Linked DNA regions of Homo sapiens: region 2 is linked to region 1. The links are contacts of gene promoters, found by promoter capture Hi-C in human tissues and cell types (Jung and others, 2019). All regions are on one chromosome and are shown on one strand. The core of a region is centred on a gene start or on the middle of the fragment in contact, and the rest is flanking DNA. Distances in the headings are between cores, read along the strand shown.

Region 1 (4,619 bases), core at 1,666-4,165:
TACCAGCTCAGAACCAGGAAACACCATTGCAAGGCAAATGTGTGTCACGGCTCCGGGCACAGTGCCAAGTACAGGTTAGCAAGAACCACTTTTTTCCTTGGGGGAGAGCGTTAAGTGTCTCAGTGTGAGAGCATCTATGACTCAAAAGCCTGGACCATTCTTGTGCTTCTCTTTGAACCTATGCTTGGGGTGACTTCCCCCCTCAACACCCCAGTTAACATTGTGGTCCAAGCCTTTACTTCCCTGCTATGGGAAAACAAAAGGGGGAACATTTATCCTTTACACAGCAACACTCCCACCCACAGGCAACTCCCCTAGGAGATTTATAAACATTAAATTGTCTGTACATGGACAATGTAGAATGTGTGACTTAGCAATGTGTGACTTAGCGATTGCATATTTCATTCTAGGCATAGTGCTAATAACCCTTTACGAGAAATATATTTATTTAATACTTAAAATAACCCCATGAGATAGGCATTATGTTTTCTGTTCTACAGATAAGAAGAGGGCATTTGGGTGAAGTATATTGATATACACAAGGACACTTAGTTAGGTGAGGGAGTCAAGACTCAACAGGCTGAATCCAAAGTGAGAAGTCTTTTTTATTTTATTTTTATTTTTTTGACAGAGTCTCTCCCTGCTGCCCAGGCTGGAGTGCAGTGGCATAATCACGACTTACTACAACCTCAACCTCTTGGGCTCAAGGGATCCTCCTGCCTCAGGCTCCTAAGTAGCCGGGACTACAGGCATGTACCACCACACTTGGCTAATTTTTTGTACTTTTTGTAGAGACAGGGATTTTGTCATGTTGCCCGGGCAGGTCTCAAACTCCTGGGCTCAAGCTATCCACTTGCCTCTGCCTCCCAGTTACTGGGATTACAGGTGTGAGCCACTGCATCCAGCCAGAAACTGAGCAATCTTCACCCTAAGGTAACTCCATGAGGATTAATCCTTATTTTTGCACTCATGTTGCTTTATTGTTTTGAGAATCTTTCTCAAAAGGAAACTTCTTTACAGCTGTCCCCCAACTCCAATCTCCATTAGTGAAGTTAAGGGCCATGAGACAGTTGTGAACACTTGATCATACCATTGTTTAATCAAATTCCACAATCCTAACTGATCGTTAGATACAGCTATATTTTATTTAAGAATCCCAATATATAAAAATCCTAATTCCCAAAATAAGTGAATTATTAGGAAGTGGCCCTTTGGCAACAGATTTTCACTTTACAAAAGGACATTCCACAAAACCTTGTTAAAAATAGGGACTGTCAGGGAAAAAGGGTTGAAAAACTAACTCTTGGGTACTGTGCTCACTACCTGGGTGATGGGATCAATCATACCCCAACCCTCAGCATCATACAATATACCCACGTAACAAACCTACACATGTACCCCTTGAATCTAAAATAAAAATTGGAATTATTTTTAAAAATGTATTTCAAATTAGCTGGGCATGGTGGTGTGCACCTATAGTCCCAGGTACTGGGGAGGCTGAGGCAGGAGAATCCCTTGAATCCAGGAGGTGGAGGTTGCAGTGAGCCGAGATCGTGCCACTGCACTCCAGCCTGGGCGACAGAGCGAGACTCCGTCTCAAAAAAAAAAAAAAAAAAAATATATATATATATATATATATATATATATATATAAAAATAAATAAAATAAAAAATGTATTTGCGACTTTTCAATTTAACAGAAAATCATGTAGCCATGTTAACAGTACACTCACCATTTCTGTTCTATGTTCAGTTAAGTTCTTGCCTTTTGACTATGTTAAAAACATAAAATCTTATATGAGCAATCTAAAAAAATAGGTGCTGTCTCTAATGTGTTGAGGTTATTTGATATTTAAAAAATCATTACAATCAAGTCATCACATCTCTAGTGATAATTTTTGAACTTCAAATTATCATATAGCTAATCTAACAAGATTCATTTTGACTTATTTCATTTCTCTGAGAATTCATATAAAGGCACTTTAAAAATCACATTTAGTTATAATAAAACTTATACTGATGTAACTTTATATAAAATTTAATTTGATTGAAAATGATAAAATTCCATAAAATTAGGACTATTCAAGAATATCTGAGATCCATGGTTGACAGAGATGTATCCATTTGGAGAATTCCTGTACCATCGCAACAACCATCTCTCCTGAGAGTTTATTTTCACTCATCTGCCATTTAACCTGAACCCAGCAAACCTTACATCAGTGCAGGAAGGATGTGAATTTCCAGTTTAGTTTTACTCTGTTATATATATTCATTATCAAATATCAATAATCAGTGACAGTGAGAGTAAGTTAAAAACAAGTGTAATTAATATATTGTAATCTTCACATCTGCAGTCTACTCTGCTTTTTGCCCTACTATAGTATTTCTGAATTTTTTTTTTTTTTAGATAGAGGCTTGCTCCGTTGCCCAGGCTGGAGTGCAATGGCGCCATCTCGGCTCACTGCAACCTCCACCTCCTGGGCTTAAGCAGGTCTCCTGCCTCCCTCCCGAGGAGCTGGAACTACAGGCATGAGCCACCATGCCCAGCTAATTTTTTTTGTATTTGCATTAGAGACAGGGTTTCGCTATGTTGGCCAGGCAGTTCTCAAACCCCTGGCCTCAAGTGATCTGCCCGCCTCAGCCTCCCAAATTGCAGGGATTACGGGCGTGAGCCACCGCACCCAGTCACTATAGTATTTCTGGATGTAAGAGTAAAAATAGCCATCCAGCCTACCTGGCACGAGTGGAGAATGAATCCATGATGCAGAGATAATTGAAGAGAAGTGCAAAGGGAAATGCAGCCCCCTGGTAAAACGATATAGGATGGAGAAAGAACAGCCAAAGCCACTCCATTAGGAACCAGAACAAAAGAGCCTGTCTTTTCCAGTGTCCTTAACTGATGCCTTCCTCCAAGAGTAATCTCAACCAGGCTGTCTCTGGTCTTTTTATCTGGTTTAGCGGGGCTAGGGTGAGCAAAAGGCAAACAAAAGCTCTGGAGATAAGCAGAATAAAAACTGGCTTTCTGATTGAGGAACTGCACTATGGAAACCAAAACACATTTTGGTGTAACATTAATCATGACATGCACTAAAAACATTGCTTTTGGAAGCGTGGTTTTGTTTCATTGACATAGTATACTATTTACCTTTCCAGTCATCATGCTGTCGTATTTTCTTCACTAAGTTAATGAAAAATCTCATTTCCCAACTGTGGACAGACAACTCTGTGGACTGAAAAGGGGAAACAAGAATGTGACCAGGAGGAAGGGAAGCAGGTTCTTTTCTTTTTCTTTTTTTGAGATAGGGTCTGGCTCTGTCACCCAGGCTGGAGTGCAGTGGCACAACCTTGGCTCACTGCAACCTCTATCTCCCCAGCTCAAGTGATCCTCCCACCTCAGCCTCCTGAGAAGCTGGGGCTATAGGCATGTGCCACCATGCCCAGCTAATTTTTATATTTTTTTTATAGAGATGGGGTTTTGCCATGTTGGCCAGGCTGATCTCAAACTCCTGGTGTCAAGCGATCCTCCTGCCTCAGCCTCCCAAAGTGCTGAGATTATAGGCATAAGGAACTGCACCCAGCTGGAGGCAGGTTCTTAAGGCAAAAACCAAGATTCCCCTTCCTCACCACAACTCTCCTCCTTATGCTACTTTTTTTCGTATCAGTACCTCTTATGTATCTATTTCTCAATTCATTTTCCTGCCCCCTTTACAACATGAGCTCTACAAGGGAAAGACTTTGTTTTGTTGATTACTGTATCCGTAGCACATAGAACACTGCTGAATACATACTATATACCCAGTAAATATTTGTTTAAAAGATTTTGAGGAGGCTGGCTGTGGTGGCTCATGCCTGTAATCCTAGCACTTTGGGAAGGCGAGGTGGGTGGATCATCTGAGGTCAGCAGTTCAAGACTAGCCTGGCCAACATGTGAAACCCTGTCTCTATGAAAAATGCAAAAATTTAGCTGGGCATGGTGGTGGACACCTGTAATCCCAGCTACTCAGGAGGCTGAGGCAGGACAATCACTTGAACCCAGGGGGCAGAGGTTGCAGTGCGCTGAGATTATGCCGCTGCACTCCAGCCTGGGCAACAAGAGTGAAACTCCGTCTTGGAAAAAAAAAAAAAAGGTTTTGAGGATATCAAAGTGTAGAGGGGAAACATTTCAAGAGAATCTTTTCTTGACAAGTAATACAGAAGAGACTTCCTAGAGGCAAGACATCTCTTGGCTAGTAGCGATCCATCTCCTGAGCCCAGGGCATTCCAGGGCTGTCCCTGATCAGTTGTTTTCCCTCTCCAAAGTCACTTGCATGAGCAAGTTGTCAATAAAGGACAGGAAAATCTGACATGAGCATCTTCAGGGCAAGGACCATCTTTTAGTGAGAGACTGTATTCGTCCGTTTTCACACTGCTATAAAGAACTACCCGAGACCGGTAATTTATAAAGGACAGAGGTTTAATTGACTCACAGTTCTGCATGGCTGGAGAGGCCTCTGGAAACTTACAGTCATGGTGGAAGGCAAAGGAGAAGCAAGTACCTTCTTTACAAGGTGACAGGAAAGAGAAGTAAGAGCGCAGGAAGAAAACACCATTTATAAAACCACCAGATCTCATGAGAACTAT
Region 2 (4,610 bases), core at 1,924-4,423, 530 kb before region 1:
TAATTTTGGTAGAAATTTTGACTTAATCCTACAGAAACTATTTCTTGAGAGATTATTACATACCACTTCCTACATCCAATGTGCCTTGAGCTAAAACTGTGAACAAAACCAACATTGATTTCGCTTCATGGAGCTCACACTAAGTGGAAAATGCAGATCAGCAAAAAGGCAGGAAAGGGGGACTGTGATTAGGAAGGGATCCCTGAGAGGTTGGGTGGGGATAATCATAGAGGGCAGCTTGGAGGAAGAACTGTTGTCTAGAGGAAAACCTGAAGGTGAGAGGATTTAGGGATCACACTTGTTGGCATGCCAGGTTGATTTCCTGTTGGTTTCTGTGTGCTGTTTCCTGGGCTCGGAAAGCCCCCAACACCTTGCTGTATCCACATTCTCATCTCCTCTCCCCGTTGATCTCTTGGTCATCTTTTCCTTCTGGGGGCAAGTGTCACCCCTTCAGAAACTCCCTTTCATCCAGAACAGACAAGAGGTCTTTACTCTGGGTCCCTATCAAGTTTTGTTCATCCTTTATTATAACCATTATCATATGCTAAAAATACATGCTTGCCTCCCTGTCTTCTCCAGTAGCTTTCAAGCTCTTAGAAAACAGGGACTTTGTCCTACTCATGTACTTGTGGACATAGTACCAGGTACAGGGCAGGCATTAAATCAATGTTGATATTTGCTGAATGCAGTGACTGGCATTGGGGTACCCTACAGCTCTCCTCACGCTGTCTCTAAACCACCTTTTCTCCTCCGGATTACATTTGAAGCCCCTCATTTGTAAGAGTCACTATTAGTAAAAACCTTAGGGTTGCCTCATCAAGAGAATGAGAAAGAAAATCTGTCAGAAGAGTAGACAGTCACCACCAGGGTAGGCATGTGGCTGCCTCATGCAGGGCCAGGGCCAGGGCCATGGCTGTGCCTTTCTTCTCTCCCAAGCTAGAGAAGAACGGAGGCTGCGGACTGCCCCCAGCGAATCCCAGTGCCCACATCATCCTGTGGAGAAGCCTTGACTACCCCCAAGCTGAGTCCTGACGGGACAGACGAGTGAGATCCAACTTCCCTTGCACTTCTGGTGATTTATATTGGACTAGAGTCTTCACCAGGGAACCTGTGGACCAAAATCAAAAATTATTTGAAAATTCTGAAGCCAGGCAAACATTTGTGGGTAGCGTGAGAAGAAAAAGATGAACTGTCTGTGCGGAGCAAAGAGAAATGTGCCCTGCTTCCTGATTGGGTGGTCGTGGTGATGGTGGGGCCATCTTTGAAAGAAGAGACTGCTGCTCAGAGCCTTCTGTGTTCTTGATTGCACTGTTCTATTAGCTAAATCATAAGAATTTTTTTAAAGCTTGTTTTTAATACTTAACTGGTACATTAGAACTAGTTTTATTTATCTAGAGATTTTAAAAGGCCCAAAGGCCACAGCCAGCTGCATCGTCCTTGTTGGAATGGATTAGTTTCCCTGTTTATTCATTTCCTACTCACATGTTAAGAGTTGTCCTTTCCATTTGAAAAGTATCTACGTCCACAGTAACTGCCCAGGATTGGCAAACTCCACTGGAGACGCAGCATGTGGAAGAGGAATTAGCTTAACTGGCTGTCCTTGTTAACATTGCCCCAGTTGTCATAAGCTTTTGTCTACCACATATTATCTGTGATATGGAGACAGAAGTCTCACTTCTTTCTGAGCCTGGCTTCTGTCTGTGCTAGGTAACTTTTTGCACTATTCTATTGAGAAGTGAAGCCAGTTGGACTTCCAGGGTCCAGTGGGGACTTGGAGAACTTTTCTGTCTTACAAGAGGATTATAAAATGCACCAATCAGCACTCTGTAGTTAGGATTGTAAAACGCACCAATCAGCACTTTGTGGCTAGCTAGAGGTTTGTAAAATGCGCCAATCAGTGCTCTGTAAAAATGCACCAATCAGCGCTCTGTGTCTAGCTAGAGGTTTGTAAAATGGACCAATCAGCACTCTGTAAAATGTACTAATCAGCAGGACATGGGCGGAGACAAATAACGGAATAAAAGCTGGCCACACCCAGCCAGCAGCGGCTACCCGCTTGGGTCCCCTTCCACTGTGTGGAAGCTTTGTTCTTTTGCTCTTCACAATAAATCTTGCTGCTGCTCACTTTTTGGGCCCGTACCACCTTTAAGAGCTGTAACACTCACCCTGAAGGTCTGTGGCTCCATTCCTGAAGTCAGCGAGACCGCGAACCCACTGGAAGGAAACAACTCTGGACACAATATCTATGCCCTCAGTCATTCCAGCAAACTTGTTCGGTATGGACATTTCTTAAATGGAAATAGCTACTGGCTGGGCGTGGTGGCTCAAACCTGTTAATCCCAGCACTTTGGGAGGCCAAGGCAGGTGTATCGCTTGAGCCCAGCGTGGGCAATGTAGTGAGACCCTGTCTCTACAAAAAATAAAAAATATAATATTTTAAAATGGAAAGACCTAGGTGCAGCGACTTGGCCTAGAGTTGAAAAGCACTTGAATGTCAGGTAGATGGTGATGTCAAATGGAGAAAATGCATTTTCCTTCCTCACTCCCTTGGACCTCAGTGTTCTTATGTGTCAAATGCAGATATTGAGGGAGGAATCTTCTAGAGTTATTTTCAGATTCTGATGTTCTCGAATCTCTCTAAGCTTTGTATCATCATAAACAGTACTTCCTGTTGGAACAGGTGCAATTCTTGCTGTGGCAATACCTATACCAGGGAAGAAACTGAAAATCCCCCAGAGTCCCCAGCTTGTCAAGGAGGCAGGGAAAAGAGCTCTCTTGACTGAGACTCCGGAAATGAGTCATGCACACTGCACCCTGGAGGACACATCTTGAACCAGGGATGAGGGGCCCATCCTGTACAGGGGACAGAAGTGGGGAAGGTGCTTGAGCTTTTTCTGCACCTGTCCCTTAGACGTTCTCCCTACTCCTGGATGCCCAAGGACACCATTAGAAAATGGGCTCCCCACACACTCTCCTAATCCCTGTAAGGAAGAGAAACTCCTGGAGGGGGGATTGAGTTGGGTAACAGGGGAGGGAGAAGCCTGTTCTGAGCAGAGAGGAGGTTAATTAAAGGGGAACCAAAAATAGCCTCCTTCTGGGTGCTGTTCATGGCTCCAAGAAAAGGGGCAGTCAGTGTCTGGAACACAGCAGAGAAGTGGAAAGGAGGGCTGACTTTGGAAATGGGTATTACTCGGGAATGCTTGTATTGAAGGTGGGGGAAGATGGGGTCTTGTGAGTCTTTGCCTTCTTCTCTCCTCACATGGTGGATCAGGGTTGGATTAGGGCAAGTGGTATCAGGCGCTCTACTTGTCCCCTGGGACCTAATGGGATTCCAGAAAGACAAGTGAACCCAGCTGGAGATGTGTGCGTGCCTGGCTGTACTCTACCTATGCCAGCACCCCCGGAAGTGGAGGGGGCCATTCAGCCTCTGATAGTCATGTGCTCCTCTGAAAGTTAAGCTGGGCTTTACATGAGGCAAAAATAAGATGATTGAGTAGAACGAGGGAGGGGGTTTTAGTACATTGCCCAAATCCCTAGAGGCGAAGGCATTTAGCAATGTCCATTGCTAAAGGAATCTGCTCTTCAACAAAATAAGGTCATTCTTAAACATCTTTATTGAGTGCCTACTGAATGCTTGGACAATGGACAAAGATGCTTATAAAAAAACTTTTCTGTGGGCCCTAAAGCATGCTCTCTGGGTCTGCCGGCCTGATCCAAGCTCATTAAAATTCCAGATGTCGGAAGGAGGCTGTGCTCCATCCCATGACTTAAGCCCCCCTTGGTTAGTTCAAAGCAACCTCTGCTGCCCTCATGGAAAGTGCCAGGTTCATGCCCTCAGCTGCACTTCAGTGCAGAAGGGTGCCAGGTGGGTCTGACTCCAGGGCATGGTGAATTTTCTTAAAGCAAAGGGTACTTGAGCCCCCATTGTGTGTGTGAATCCTCAGAAAATGTGTGTGTGTGTTTTTTTTTTTTTGAGGATAGTGTTTGTAGCTTTTACCAGATTTAAAGAAAGAAAGAAAGAAGAAAAGGAAGGAAGGAAGGAAAAGAAAGAAAGAAAGAAAGACAGAAAGAAAGAAAGAGAAAGAAAGAAAGAAAGAGAAAGTAAAAAAGAAAAGGAGAAGGAAGAAAGGAAGGAAGGAGAGAGAAAGAAAAAGAAAGAAAGAAAGGAAGGAGAGGGAAGGAGGGAAGGAGGGAAGGGGAAGGGAAAGGGGAAGGGAAGGGAGGGAAAGGCAAGGGAAGGGAAGAAGAAAGAAAAAGACATGGGAGGGGAGGAGAGAGGAGAGGAGAAGAGGGGAGGGGAGATCAAGCCGCTTTCCCAGGTCCACCAGCTGCTTCACAGCTCAGGGGCAGGGTGGAGCCATTCCTTGTTAGGTCTCTGCTGTCACTTTTCTTATCCTACATACTTTTCTAAAAGCAGGGAACTGTACAATCCCTCCTGCCGGCTTAGCCATCTGAAGGCTCTTTCTTGACTGCATATCCATTCATTGCCATGGAGGGGGAATACCAGAAGAAAAAATCACCAGGTCGACCCTTGCTCCCTGTCTTCAAAGGAGATGTCTCCAACAGACTTCCTTTAGGGCCGGGGGGCTTGTGGCTTTGGCCAGCCATTG

The links. The method cuts DNA at HindIII sites, captures the fragments that hold promoters and counts their contacts. A contact is called where the count stands out against the background at its distance.
Region 2: a contact is called between a fragment that was not itself captured here and the fragment with the promoter of MBOAT4 in region 1, in 1 of the 25 tissues and cell types used here (spleen).

The regions. Positions count from the first base shown.
Region 1 is chr8:30,141,750-30,146,368 of GRCh38, forward strand. MBOAT4 (membrane bound ghrelin O-acyltransferase MBOAT4) reads right to left here and starts at 2,916. Exons shown (of 3, transcript NM_001100916.2): 1 at 2,734-2,916. The coding sequence starts at 2,852. The HindIII fragment of the contact is 8,892 bases long and covers 1-4,619 here.
Region 2 is chr8:29,611,969-29,616,578 of GRCh38, forward strand. No RefSeq gene overlaps it. Among named protein-coding and RNA genes, the nearest start is that of LINC02948, 52 kb to the left of the region's middle. The HindIII fragment of the contact is 3,374 bases long and covers 1,487-4,610 here.